Regions from separate parts of the Homo sapiens genome. Here all the other regions are linked to region 3. The links are contacts of gene promoters, found by promoter capture Hi-C in human tissues and cell types (Jung and others, 2019). All regions are on one chromosome and are shown on one strand. Each heading gives the region's core, a stretch centred on a gene start or on the middle of the fragment in contact. The rest is flanking DNA. Distances are from core to core; before and after follow the strand shown. Region 1 holds the start of HOXB1 (homeobox B1). Region 2 holds the start of HOXB9 (homeobox B9). Region 3 overlaps HOXB3 (homeobox B3).

Region 1 (2,937 bases), core at 186-2,685, 36 kb before region 3:
CCGGGGAGGTGCATGTCGACTGGTCTGAGGCATCTCCAGCTGCCTCCTTGGGGCAGCCTGGTGGGGCTGGGGGGACCCGACCTTCCTCTCGCTCGCGCTTCTTCTGCTTCATTCGTCGGTTCTGGAACCAAATCTTGACCTGTGTTTCATTGAGCTCCAGGGTGGCGGCAATCTCCACCCTCCGGGCCCGGCTCAGGTACTTGTTGAAATGGAACTCCTTTTCCAGTTCTGTCAGCTGCCTTGTGGTGAAGTTGGTGCGGAGGCCACTGGGCGAGCCCAGGCCTGGCTCTGACACCTTCGCTAGGGGCGGGGCAGGGAGAAAGGCCAGGTCAATTCTCTCACCTCTTTCTCCTTCCGCTTCCCTCCTCCCGGGGCTGGCTCTGGACCTCCATTTGCCATTCTGCCCAAGTACAGTTGTCAAAGTTCCCAGGGACCACCAGGTACCCCCATGGTGATCACCAAGTCTGGAGCAGCCTTCCCCATACTTCCATCCCCCATGCACACCAGGTCCTGGGTCTGTGCTGGGTGCACAGATCAGGAAGTGGGGTGTGTATGGAAACTTACTCCTGGGGTGACCGGTTACATACTGGGTGGGGAGACCTCACCTGACCTGAGACGTAGGTTGTGCTCTTACCTGTGTCTACCAGAGCCGCTGAAAGAGAAGAACCCAGCCCAGACCCAGGACATGTCACTGCAGGGGAAGCAGAGATGCTTTGGGCCCCGGAGAAGGGGTGGCCACATCTGAGCCCTACCTGTCTTGGGTGGGTTTCTCTTAACCTTCATCCAGTCGAAGGTCCGGGCCGTGGGGGTGTTAGGTTCTGAAGGGCAGGGTGTTTCCTTGTCCTCGGAGAGGAGATCAGCATAGGCCGGTGCAAAGCTCGCGGTCTGCTCGTTCCCATAAGGGGGATGCTGCGGAGGATATGGCCCCGGACCGGCTCCACCTGCTCCGTAGCCATCGGACAAGCCCCCTAGCTGGGCCCCGTAGCTCGAGGGATGAAAATAGCCTCCGTCTCCTTCTGATTGACCCAGAGGGTAGTACTGAGAAGGCCCGTAGCTGGGGCTGCAGGCGGCAGGAGCATACCCCGAGGGCGCGGAGCTGGGGAAGGGCACCCCCAGGGTCGAAGGCGGCTGCTGGGCGGGATAGCCGGAGTTCTGCTGAAACGCAGGGCTGGACAGCCCCCCACCGTAGCGGCCCTCGCTTGCATAGCTGTCAACCGCCTGAGCCGAGCTTGGGGGAAAGGAGGTTGGGGCGCTGTGGGCGCTGTAGGCGCTGGGTCCCCGGTTACAGAGTGGGTACTCTAAGAAGGAGTTCATCCTATTATAGTCCATGCGTCAAGGCCGCAGGAGGGTCGGCCCGTTTGGGGGAGACACCCTCTTGCCCTACAACCTTTCGGCAGTATGTCACAGCGCTGGGGCTCGAATCCATGGCCTGACCCGCTCGCCTGGGCAAGCGCTTCCCTAGGAAGGGGGTAGGGAGTGGGGGTGAGGGGGCACATGTGATCTCTCCCAGGCCAATGGGCTAAGCGGGCCAGAGTTTGGCAGCCCCAGCGCCCATCCATCACCCCCCAAGCATTAGCATGACAAAGACACTTCAATCACCCGCAGCCCATCCATCTGAGAGCGACATGGAAGCGTCAAAAACATCTTTCTTCAAAGACTTTTGGAAAGAAGGGACCAGAGGGAGAGGGGGAAAAAGTTAGGAGAATATTCAAGACTTTCCTTCCCTCCCAACCCCCAAGGCCTTCAATAGGCTCCTGGGTTATTAGATTTGGACAAATTCAAGCCAGCTGCCCCTCACTCTTCCCACCCCTCAGAGAAACCTTCCCCCTAAGTCTGTGGACCTGGAGGTGGGGAATCCAGCTTCCATACTTTGCCCAGAACTCCCAAACCATGTTCCTTTCTTCCAATTTGTCTTAGGGTGGTGGGCTAGGACAGCCGGGTGAGGTATGTTATCTTGGGCCAAATGGATGACTGTGTGGTGGGGAGGTGGGGGAAGGTGGTGCAAAAACACCTAAGGGTGTGGGGCAGGATCTAGAATCTAGAGGAAGAATTCATGAAGCCAGGGGTGGGAAATTGGCATTTCAGGGAGCAAGGCAGGACTACAGAAATGTGGAGAAAAGGATGAGAAATGCCCCATCTTCCCTCTCTCTCTCTTTGCATAAATGTTCTCTCCTCATTCACACATCCATTTCTCTCCCTCAGCCTCTCTTTATATTCTCTCTGTCTCAATCCATCTCTCTGTTCGTCCATCTTTCTCCATATTTATATTCGTTCCCTACCTCTCATCTCTCTAGATGTATTTATCCTCTCTCTAGCCATCCATAGCTGTAGCTGGCTCACTCACTCAGACTTAAATAACTCCCTATATCTCTCTAGAGAGCCACAATGAGCACAGCCAGGTGATGTTTACAGCGGGGTGAAGAGGAGGGGAATTTTTTATTCTCTTCTTGAAGTGTTTAAAACTAGTGGAGACCTGCATTCTCCTGGTTCCCTCCTACCTGTCTCTCCTTCACCACCCTCCATCTCCTTCCAAAAAAAAAAAATTTCCAAACCTCAAATGCATAAATTTAATACCAGTTAAATCTTAAAGATTCCTCCAGATTTCAGTAATTTTTCTAGGATTGATAAAGGGAGTTTGGTCAGAGAGTGGGAGAATCGGGGTGGAGGCCCTGAGGCTCTGAATTCTAAGACTCCAGAGTGAGGAGTGGAGTCTCGCCCCTTTTTGTTCTGTGTGGCTGTTGCGGAGGGACACAGGATGTGTCTTCTTCACTCTCTCAGACTCCAAACCCAGATGGGACTAGAAGAGAAGCCCTTAGGTAGAGCCCATTGACTCTCCTCCTCCGGACAACTTGAGGGCAAGAGCTTGGGGCAATCCAACACCCACGCTCATTTGTAACCTGTCAGGGTGTCTGCCTGGCCGGAGGCCTGGGGCCGAAG
Region 2 (2,720 bases), core at 184-2,683, 59 kb after region 3:
CCCTTCGAGATGCCCCGATATTCGGAAGCGATTCCCCGACTCCCCAAGAGGCGGACAGCCCGGGCTGGGGCTCGGGAGCCCCGCAGAGAGCAGCGGGGGACCGCAGAAAAGGAAGCGGTAGCCCCTGCGAGGACGCCGAGGAGGAGAGGGGCCACCGGAGGGAAGGCTCCCGGGGAGGGGCCGGCGCATCCGGGGAGGGGGCTCAGTCACCGCGTCCTGGGCTTCCCCCGCCCCTCCTGTCGCCGGTTGCGGACTCTGCGCGGCTACAGCGCGAGATCTGCTAGGAACAATCCTCCGCCAAGCTGTTGCATCGCAAATAAAATCCTAATGAGCTCCCTCCCCCTTCCCCTTGGCCGGCTTTTACGGTCTGCGCGTGGCGCGGGGAGCTCTGCCAGCCGCACGGCCCCGGGCAGCCCAGTGCGCTCCGGCCCTTGCCCTCGCCGGCTCTCGGCCTCGCTGGCCGCTGGCCCCGGCCCCCGCCAGCTCCTCTCCCGGCCGTCGCCGGTCTCTGGCCGGGCTTTCAGCTGGGGCCTCCGGGAGAGAGGGGGAAAGAGGGCCGAGAGAGCTGCAAGTCGATCCCCGAGCCCCTGTTCCCCGCAGGACTTGGAGAAGTGGGGGCAGCGCTCCTCTGGCGGCCTCAGTCTCCCCTTCTAGAGCACGCAGCTTTCCCCTTCCCTCCGTCTTTCCTTCCTCTCCCCTCCTCCTCCCGGCCCGCTCTCCGGCCACCGCCGCAGTTTCCCTTCACATTGTCCGCAGTTTATTGCCTTTCCCCTCCCCGCCCCCCTCCTGGCCTTCGGCCTGGGTATTTCCTCACTTTTTATAACTTACTTTGATCCGGCCTCTCTTTGTCCTCGCTTCCTTCGCAAATTTTATTGTCCCCGTAGCCGGGTCTTTGATTAGACAGCACGGCCTCCCTGCCCGCCGAAGTTTCCAAACTGTACTCGGGCGTGCCCTGTTTGAGCAGCTCCCCAGGCGCGCCCAGCAGCGGCTCCGCCTTCACCGCCGCCTGGCCCTGCCCCGGGGCCGCTTCGCCGCGCGGCGCCGGCTCCAGCCAGGTGCGGAGGTACCTGCTCTCGGCCGGCGGGACGCCCTGGGGCTGGATGTAAGGGTGGTAGACGGACGGCAGGCTCCCGGACGCGTGCGGGCTCAGCGGCGCCCAGGAGGCGCCGAACACCGGCGCTTTGGGCTGGAAGCTGCACGAGGGGAACTCCAGGTGCTCCGCGTGGCCCGGCTGCCGCGAGCTCGCGTACTGGCCAGAAGGAAACTTGGCTGGAGGCGCGTCCTCACTCTCGTGACTTATGATCGAGTCGACATAATAGCTGCTAAGCGTCCCAGAAATGGACATTCTCAGACATTATCCGGGCGCTTGCAGGGGGAAGGGAAGCGCTCGCGCGGCGGCGCCCAAGCAGGGAGAGGTGGCACCCGGACCGGTGTGAGGGCTTTCGGACGCGACCCCCCCAGCCCCCCACCCTCCCACCCCCACCCCCTGCTCAACTTCTCAGCCAACAAAGTACAGTGGAGCAGCCCGTCTCAGCTCTCCTTGCAAAATGATTGGTCAAAGTTTTTCCGACTGCCTGATAAAGCGTCAGCTCCGACATAAATCAATCGGGCGAGGGGGCTGCGCTCTCGCTGTCATCCGTCCGCACCGCACTCCATATCGAGGATGGATTGTTTTATGCTGATGCAATGTGCTATCACGTCAGGGCTCCGGCGGCCACGTAACCTCAGCCCCAGCTACCGGCCGCCCGGTCCCCCCCTCCCGCTGCAGGAAGGGGGGCAGTTCTCAACATGGGGCGGCGGGGGCGGAGGAGAGGCGGAGGGAAGCGGCGGGCTGCCTTGGGAGGGACGCAGGCTGTAGAGCCCTCTCCCCAGGCGGGTCGGGGAGGGAGGGAGAGCAAGGGCGGAGGGAGGGAGAGAGCCCCAGCCCGGGGAGAAGCCATAGAGGCCCGAGAGGATACTGGAAGAGGAGGTGCTCCTGTCCCCCCACACACACCTCCACCCCGCAGGCCCTCATTTCCTCTTCTCTTTCCCCTTGACAAAAGATGTTTATTAAACAACAACAGCAGCAGCAATCCACAGGAGATGAAGTAAAATGATGAGGGGAAAAGTTGGGGATTTTAGGACGTTGTCCGCTTTGGAGGGGGCTCTCCTTGCACTCTTTGTAGAGATTTACATGACTGCGAGCTTCCCTGGGCCCCTCAGTAGCTGAGGGAGGAGGAGAGAGGTGAATAAAACGACTGAGTGTCCAAGAATCCACTATCTGTCCTGAAATTAGAAACTACTTGAGGTTAAAGGGATCCATCAGGTCCCGGAAACGTGAGCCTAGGAAAGAGTTTAATACAAGGAACCAGAGCGCCTTTACATTTATTGGGCCTTTCTCTGACTCTGGCCAGAAGGATGGATTTAAGATGGTGGTGGTGACGTGGGGGGTGGGGGTGAGGGAAGCCATTTCTCCTTTTCTCCACTGAATAACCACCCAGGCCCCTAAATTTGCCCTGATGAGGGAGCTAAATAGGAGAAAGGGTTAAGGCCACTTTCCTGAGGTGTGACCAGAGCAGAGGCCTGGGAAAGGATCCCCAGTCAGCAAGGGAAGGGGTCCCAAGTTATCTCCCCTTCCATCCAAAGAGGAAGGAGCCTGGGCTGAGTTTTCAGCCCTCCTGTACTACTCCTCTCACCTGAGGCTCCTGCTCTGGAGATTTCCAAACACCGATATAGGGGCC
Region 3 (2,700 bases), core at 180-2,679:
TCTATCCAGAGAAATTCTCTTCTAGAGAGAAGGGGACAAAAGGGGTAGTTTCCTTCCCACTGCCCTTGTTCTCACTTAACTCTGTGTGTGTGTCCCCTTGTGAATTGTGGGGCTCCTTCCTCCAGGACAGCCTCCCTTCCCCTCTGACTGGCCTTTGTTTCCACTCTCCCTGTCATCACCTCCTTGGGCTCAGCCTTGACTTCCCATCCCAGAAAGGGATCCTGCTGCTTGTTCTCTCTCTGGGTCCCTCTCTTCCTCATCTCACTCTTCATCTTTCTATCCAATTCCTCTGGTCACTAAAGCGTTAGCAGCCTGCCTCCTTAAAGGCACAGAGATAAACACTGCAATTATATAGAGAGGATACCAGCAGAGAGTTAGGGGAGAAGACAGAGTCAGCAGCTTTCTTAGAGCTCTGTCTACCAGATGCATTCTATCCCAACCCCTGAACAACACAAAAGCAAATCAGTGGGGTGGAGGGTGCAGGACTGGTAAGAGACAGGGTGCTTCATAGCTAAATGAAGCAAATGTATATATAAACAACAAAGTCCTTTCAAACTTGCTGATTTGGGGTAGGCCTAGATGCCTGGATGGAAGGCATTAGGCATCACATGGGGGATTTACCAGATAATGGTGGCAAGGGATGGTCCCCTTGCTTTGTCTCCTGGGGAAGAGTCTGTGCGTGTTGGGGAAAGGGAAGGGGAGGGGGTATCAGTGTCACCTCCTCTCCTCTGGGCCAGAGGAGACAAAGACCTGAAGAGGGCTGAAAGAATAAAGAGGAAAAGCTGGTGGAGTGGGGGTGGGGGTGGTTGGTCAGACTTCCACGTCACAGGCAAAGGTAGCAGCAGGAGGGGAGATGGAAAAGGGTTGGGGAGGAGGAGTTGCAAACGCAGGGGGAAGGGGCCTGTGGGACTGGCTCTCCATGCTAGCTATGGGCTGGCCCAAAGAGCAGATCCTTTTCTTTCCCATCTTTCAAAGCATGCTGAATTCAGAAGCTAATACAAATGATTCTACCCTCTTCCTTCTCTGTCATGTCCCTCCTCCTCCCCATGGAAGAAGTGATCCTTCCCTGCTCTCTCAAAAACTCCAAGACTTTGCCCTAACTCTGGACCACCGGTTTGAGGGAGAACGCACCCTCTTCACAGTCATACCCCCCAACACTTTCCAGATGAGGGAGAAGTAGAACTGCTTGCCTCTCACACTGAATGTGTGTGGGATTCTCCAACACTCAAGGAGTGGGTGGGGAATGAGACTGAAAGGTTTGGAGCCCCTATGCCCCAGGTCTCTTTGCTGCCTCTGCCAGCCCTTCCCACCTCCTCACAATCTCCAGTGCTGTCAAAGCTGCCCCTGTATCCAGACTTTTCCCTAGTTCTTTTTATCCAGGTCAGACAGTGCCTCTACCCATCCCAGCCTTGGGTCCTGGCCTTCTCTTTCTCCCCAAACCCTTTTCAACTGAGACTCCTGAATTGGGAGGCTTCACCCACTACCCACTGAGAATCCCTTGTTAACATGGATGAGACTCAGTGTTCACTTGGAGCAGAGTGTGGGAGCGAGCTCCTGGATGCTGCAGGGACTGGGGCCTAAGCTGCCACTCCACGTAGTGGATGCCATGAATAATTAACACCTGGGCGCGGCGTTGCTCTAACTTCCCTGCTCAAAGGTTTACACTAGCAGGCAGAGTTAAATATCACAGATAATCGTGGCTATAAAGTCAGTTGGCCTGGCTCCAGTCAGGGAATGAGGGGCCAACAGCTGGGACTGGAGTTGGTGAAGGCTCTGGCCCTCTGCACCTCATCCATCACAACTTTGGGGCACAGTGCAGAACATTCCCCAAAGCCACCTCTGGCTTTGCTCTTGACCAGCAGCCTCTCCCCTAGTAGGAAGGAACTGTGACCTCCACATGAAACTATAGGAGAAAGTTAACAGCTCTTCCCCTCCCTCTCCAATCTGCACCCCGTTTGCTCCCTTTTTGGATGGGGACTTAGTTAAAAGAACACACCCAACATCCTCCAACACTCCCAACTTTCTGGGACCACCTGATTCCTAGAACATTTCTTTTCTAGAAAAACTTCGGAGAACTTCTCCCCACTTTAGCCCCAAACACAGAGTCCCTCACTGCTGAGGAAACTTTTCTTTGTTTCAGCAGGTCAAAGGAAGGCTCCTGGGGTGTGAATTCATTTCCTTGTTTTGTTAGCCAGGAGGGTGGGGAGCCAAAGCTTTCAGCTTCTCTCCCTGCCCTTCACCCTCTGCTTGCCTCCATTGTCTCCCCCAATTTGGGTGATTCCTTTTCCACCTTTGACCACCCCCCAGACACATCAGTCCTATAAATTAAGCTTTAATAATGTAACGGAACCCCTCCCATCCCTTTCCAATTGCACAGAACTTTGATTTGGTCTCCATTGATCACAAAAATATTTGCCTTCAACTCCAGTAATTTCTTTCTCCACTTCCACCTCTCTTACTCTAAGGCTCCTTCTGCCTTCAGAGTTGGGTTTGTTCATCCAGGGCTGGAGTTGGAGAAGCCAAACTCCTGGAGGGGAGCTGCTAAAAAATGGAGCTCTGTCTGCTGCTGCAGGAATGTTGGCTCTATCAGGCTCACAAATATAATTTTTATATTAGACCATGGTCATTGACTGGGTTTATATGCCAATGAGGCATTTCTGGTTTACCAAATTTATGAAAATCTCGCTTTAATTGATAATC

The links. Contacts are between HindIII fragments. The study calls those that stand out against the background at their distance.
Region 1: the fragment with the promoter of HOXB1 here is called in contact with a fragment that was not itself captured in region 3 in 6 of the 25 tissues and cell types used here (H1 embryonic stem cells, liver, mesendoderm cells and 3 more).
Region 2: the fragment with the promoter of HOXB9 here is called in contact with a fragment that was not itself captured in region 3 in 3 of the 25 tissues and cell types used here (H1 embryonic stem cells, mesendoderm cells and small bowel).

What each region holds. Positions count from the first base shown.
Region 1 is chr17:48,529,576-48,532,512 of GRCh38, forward strand. It overlaps HOXB1 (homeobox B1), which reads right to left and starts at 1,436. Exons shown (of 2, transcript NM_002144.4): 1 at 753-1,436; 2 at 1-300. The coding sequence starts at 1,329. RefSeq lists an enhancer at 1,326-1,906. The HindIII fragment of the contact is 7,824 bases long and covers 1-2,937 here.
Region 2 is chr17:48,624,925-48,627,644 of GRCh38, forward strand. It overlaps HOXB9 (homeobox B9), which reads right to left and starts at 1,434. Exons shown (of 2, transcript NM_024017.5): 1 at 829-1,434. The coding sequence starts at 1,345. RefSeq lists an enhancer at 287-964 and a silencer at 2,375-2,530. The HindIII fragment of the contact is 6,922 bases long and covers 1-2,720 here.
Region 3 is chr17:48,565,687-48,568,386 of GRCh38, forward strand. All of the region lies in intron 2 of HOXB3 (homeobox B3), which reads right to left. Among named protein-coding and RNA genes, the nearest start is that of HOXB-AS2, 11 kb to the left of the region's middle. The HindIII fragment of the contact is 3,873 bases long and covers 1-2,700 here.